Regions from separate parts of the Homo sapiens genome. Here region 1 is linked to region 2. Evidence: promoter capture Hi-C in 16 types of primary human blood cells and fetal thymus (Javierre and others, 2016). All regions are on one chromosome and are shown on one strand. The core of a region is centred on a gene start or on the middle of the fragment in contact, and the rest is flanking DNA. Distances in the headings are between cores, read along the strand shown.

Region 1 (2,700 bases), core at 1-2,500, 2.1 Mb before region 2:
TCTAGGACCATAAAATTATATACTCTGTAACACAATAATCCTACTCTTGGGATTATGTATGAATATTTTCATTACAGTATCATAGAATGGTAAAAAATGAAAGTCATTAAAAATACCTAAGCAAGAAAGGAATAGCTAAGTTACATATAGTATACCAACAAAGTGAAAGAAGAAATGTTATATTGTGATTGTAAATCATGTATGTACAAATGCCATGAAAATTAAAGCCAGTAATTACTGCTTAGGGTGTAGAAAACCTGGGTTCCTTTTTCATAATATTGGCAATAATTTTTATTTTAATGGTAAATATGGAGACACTAAATGTCTAGCATTTACTTTACAAGGCTGTTCAGGATAACTTGTTGACATACTACATACACAAGGCCCCTAAAACTTTAGAATTAAAACAAAAAATATTAAGGACCACACCATCATAATATGAAGCAACAAGAATCAAAAGCAGCTGTCAAGTAAGACCACAAAGCATTTACTATTGCACATATTCACCTCTTAGGAAATGCTGAAATAAAAAAGATATTTGCAACAATTATATAAAACAGTTGCCTGCTGGGTTTTTTTCTTTTAAAATTTAACTGCCAACATATTCCTACCAAACATTCCAACCAGACCAAATACTAATATGCTTACTTCCTACCTTCGGAGAAAATGAAGATGTTTTAAGTGAGATAAATGAGCACACAATTCCGTATCCAGATAAAACTGCTAAAAGTCTCAAGGAAGGGCTAGCAAATTAGAGGTGAAATTTCATTTAGATAGAAATAGCTGAAAGGCAAACCAAAGCTTCCAGAAAAATTCCCAAGAACTTTCCAAACACTAAACACAAACAGCCAGAAATTAATTCTTTACAGGTTTAGTCAGCCTTCTATGCTAATCTGCTTTTTTCTTTAATTTCTTTGGCTTTGAATAGCATTGTTTTTCACTAGCTTTCCATTAACTCACCCTTTAACTCTCTTAGCATAGTTATTTATATTTTGTCCTAGGCTTGAGATTCCTCCTAATTGGAGTGGACTGATAAAATAGGTGTATCTTAACTAATGCTAAAAACCAATGTGTCTCTTTTCTTACAAAATCATGTTTTCTTTTGATTATTTGTTTCTGATTACTCTGTTTCAGTAGCTATACATATAAAACCCAAACAAAACTAAAATAGTTTATGAAATGGTAGAAAGTGATAGTGGCATAGCAGAAATACTCTACAATATGGCAAGACACCTACAATGAGATGAAATCTTAATTCCAAGCAGGTAAAGAATATTGTAACCAGCTGTTGCTCTAATTATATTCTAATTCTGCCAAAGTTAGGCTGAGAAGAAAGAAAAAGACAACGATGATGACAAAAATGTTATTTGGCTCAAATATTCCACCAATGAGTTAAACTATTTTCCTTATTCCACATCTCTTTCTACCACAGTTTGCTAAGGTAAACATAGCACATTGTGAAAGAAGTACCCAGTGAAGGAAAATAAAGTAATAAACATAGCAGACAGTTCTGCTTTGCTTTTTTTGTCAGCTTACAGTAACAGCACTTGTATAGCACCAAGATACCAAGATAAGTTCTTAGGAAAACCCCAACAGGAACCAGCTGATTATTAACTTTACAACCGGTTTCATTTCATCAGGAAAGAGATGCTCTTTCTTGTAATTCATGTGGGTTATAAACACCAAAATAGAAAGCTTAACTCAAGACTGTGCCAGTCTTCACTAACAGTTTTTAAATCAGGAAATGATAGTGATTAAGCTTGACTGTCCTCATTCCACTAACATTTCTTAGATTTAATGTCTTACCAGTTGTCACACAGTCGAGTTTCCTGGTCATCTAGAAATTCAGCCATCTTTAGCTCTTCCTGAAAACCACAAAGGAAGACATGAACTTTCTCTTTCATTTCTGCTTTAAAGATGACATGCAAAAAAACAAATAAAAAACTAGTATACAGAAACTGTCACCCAAACCTGCATGTTAAAGCATTTTATTCAATATCCAGTCCCTTGGGATTTTCTTATTTTAAAATTTTCAATTTAAAATAATTTTATTGGATAAGGGAGTTTTAAAAAATAAAAATAATAAAATAAAATACTTTTACTAGGCTGGGTACAGTGGCTCATGCCTGTAATCTCAGTACTTTGGGAGGCCGAGGCAGGCGGATCACTTGAGCCCAGGAGTTTAAGACCAACCTGGCCACAACATGGGGTAACGTCATGTCTACAAAAAATACAAAAAAAAAAAATTACCCAGGCATGGTGATGTGTGCCTGTAGTCCCAGCTACTCGAGAGGCCGAGGCAGGAGGAATGTGCAAGAGGAATGCTTAAGCCTAGGAGTTTAAGGCTGCAGAGAGCCATGATCATGCCACTGCACTCCAGCCTGGGTGACAGAGTGAGACCCTGTCTCAAAAATAATAATAATAATAACATCCTGGCCAGGCGCAGTGGCTCACACCTGTAATCCCAGGACTTAGGGAGGCCGAGGCAGGCAGATCACAAGGTCAGGAGATCGAGACCATCCTAGCCAACATGGTGAAACCCCCATCTCTACTAAAAATACAAAAATTAGCTGGGTGTGGTGGCGCATGCCTGTAATCCCAGCTACTCGCGAGGCTGAGGCAGGAGAATCGCTTCAACCAGGGAGTCAGAAGTTGCAGTGAGCCAAGATCGTGCCACTGCACTCCACCCTAGCGACAGAG
Region 2 (2,700 bases), core at 32-2,531:
ATGTTTAACTTTGCTGGTCACATACAAGTTTTGTCGCATATTCTTCTTCCTCTTTTTCTTTATTTCCCTCTCTCTCTTCTTCATTTTCATCTCGCAACCCTTTAAAAATGTAAAAATCATTCTTAAGTAGCAAGCCATACAAAAACAAATCGTGGACTAGAAGTAAACAATGCATTATCTTAATTTTGAACATGAGATTAAAACTGAAGCCTAAGGAATCATCTAATATATTCTTTTTTGTTATTTTTGTTGTTGTTGTTGAAGTTGTTTTTGAGACAGTCTCGCTCTGTCCCCCAGGCTGGAGTGCAGTGACGCGATCTCTGCTCACTGCAACGTCCACCTCCCAGGCTCAAGCGATTCTCATGCCTCAGCCTCCTGAGTATCTAGGATTACAGGCATGCGCCACCACGCCCGGCTAATTTTTTTTTTTTTTTTTTTTTTTTTGAGACGGAGTCTCACTCTGTCGCCCATGCTGGAGTGCAATGGCGTGATCTCAGCTCACTGCAACCTCCACCCCCTGGGTTCAAGCTCCTGCCTCAGCCTCCCAAGTAACTGAGATTACAGGCTCCTGCCACTGTGCCCGGCTAATTTTTGTATTTTTAGTAGAGACGGGGTTTCACCATGTTGGCCAGGCTGGTCTTGAACTCCTGACCTCGTGATCCACCCGCCTCGGCCTCCCAAAGTGCTGGGATTACAGGCGTGAGCCACCGCGCCCGGCCAATTTTTGTATTTTTAGTAGAGATGGGGTTTCACCATGTTGCCCAGGCTGGTCTCGAACTCCTGCCTCAAGTGATCCTCCTGCCTCAGCCTTCCAAAGAGTTGAGATTACAAGAGTGAGCCACCACGCCCAGCCTGGAATCATATAATATATTCTTATTTTACTTTACCCCAGTAAAATGCAAGCTTCATAAGGACTAGAAATTCAGTCTTTGCTCACTGCTGTTTCTCCAGTGGCTGGGACAGTATATAAAGCATGGTAAGTGCTTGATAAACATTTGTTGAATCAAGGAATGAATGAATGAACTTGACCATTGATTGCCTCAGGAAGGTTGTGGCTGCAGGGTTCTCATCACAAGATATTGCTACTTCCCCTGGTATTAATCAGTTGGGACGAGGGGAATCTCTGCCAGAGAAGAAGACCCAAATTCAATATTTAAAGGTAGGACAGATGATACTCGGGCAGTCTCCTGCCCTCACTCAAGATGGCGACAAGGCAGAGTGCCCTTTCCGGTCACATGACCTGACACTCGCCGAAGGGCACCTCCCCGCGCGTGCGTGCTGTGCCAAGGCTGCAAGGCGCTGAGGGGAGAGGCGCCGCCGTCAGCGCCGCCGCAGCTGGGACCCGTTAGAGCGGAAGCGCCGCCGCCACCGCCGCCTTTGCTGTCCCCCGGCCTCTAGTTCCCCGCAGGTGGGAGGTGGGAGCCATGTCGAAACGGCTCCGGAGCAGCGAGGTGTGCGCTGACTGCAGCGGGCCGGGTGAGTCGCACCGGCCGGGCCCGCTCCCCTCTGCTTTCCTGGCCCGGACCCCTACCCCGGGGCCGCCCCCTCAGGTCAGGCTGCATCCCGCGGCTAGGGTCGCAACGAAGAGGTCCCTGGGCGGCCTTGGGGTGGGAACCGTCCCGGGCCTGTCAGAGCCGGGCGGGCAGGGGGCCGCCGCCCTCCCCGTCCCTCGCGGCCCTCCCTTCCCTCTCGTTCCCTCCCGTTCCCTCCGTCCTAGGCCAACTGGGGAGGTGACGGGGGCCAGGGCTGCTCCCCCAACAGGAAGGGGCTTGGGCAATCCACAGGAAAGCCAATTACAGAAGTAAAATGTGAGCGTCCTCCCGGCTGCAGCCTCCAGAGGCTGCAGGTGTCACCTCCCACTAGACCCTTTCTCCGCCTGGGTGTCCTGCCCGGGGAGGATGACACTCCCTGAGACTCGCCAGAGGGTCCCCGTAGATGACTTCCCCGCTGCTGACATCCGACAGCTACTCTGCCCGGGAGAATTGCCAGGAGATCGGGGTCTTCCAAACACAACCAGCACTTAGGAGGCAGTGCTTGTCTCAAGTTTGAGGATCTGAACGGCCTGGGTTCAAACTAGATTTTGCTTCTGGCTGACCTTGGGCTGGTGACTTCACTTGGTCACTTGCTTGATTTCCTCATTTTTTTCAATGAGGATAATCGGGAGTATCACGCTTAGTGGTGAGGAAGATTCAATGAATACTCGTAGAATCATATCATCTAAGGCTTTTCTTTTTTGCATTATGCTGTCTACAGTAGAACTCTTGTAGTCCCTTAAAGCTATATTTGACTATCTAAATCATACGTTGATTACAACGGAAACAAACGCAAAATCACCAGCAATATAGGGGCATTGAAACGCTAAAGCCATTCCTTCATAATGATGCATAACTGTTCATACATAATATTCACATTTAGAGATCAAGTGTGTCTTAGCAATTGCAACTGAATTGTCAGGTCTCTGGATAGATTATTACATGCTGTTTTAGGTGCTTGGATGTATTGGCTTTGAGTTAATTCGAAGGTAACATGGCTTTCTTGGCACAATAGTGTCCGATAAACAATCTTAATTAAATCATTGAACACCACTGGCTTTGCAACTGTTCTGATCTTAAGCTTGTCATTTGGAAGTGGAGACCAATTGTAAATAGAACTGTGATAACTCAAACCTCATGTGGTTGTTTTATGGCCCGTACAGTGCAG

What was found. The method cuts DNA at HindIII sites, captures the fragments that hold promoters and counts their contacts. A CHiCAGO score of 5 or more calls a contact.
Region 1: a fragment that was not itself captured here is called in contact with the fragment with the promoter of GIT2 in region 2 in 1 of 17 cell types (monocytes); the score reaches 5.7 in monocytes.

What each region holds. Positions count from the first base shown.
Region 1 is chr12:112,129,676-112,132,375 of GRCh38, reverse strand. It overlaps TRAFD1 (TRAF-type zinc finger domain containing 1), which reads right to left. Exons shown (of 12, transcript NM_006700.3): 2 at 1,807-1,865. The coding sequence starts at 1,853. Among named protein-coding and RNA genes, the nearest start is that of TRAFD1, 5.5 kb to the right of the region's middle. RefSeq lists an enhancer at 1,613-1,662. The HindIII fragment of the contact is 894 bases long and covers 804-1,697 here.
Region 2 is chr12:109,994,949-109,997,648 of GRCh38, reverse strand. It overlaps GIT2 (GIT ArfGAP 2), which reads left to right and starts at 1,281. Exons shown (of 20, transcript NM_057169.5): 1 at 1,281-1,476. The coding sequence starts at 1,425. RefSeq lists enhancers at 1,111-1,270, 1,961-2,010 and a silencer at 1,541-1,630. The HindIII fragment of the contact is 1,710 bases long and covers 906-2,615 here.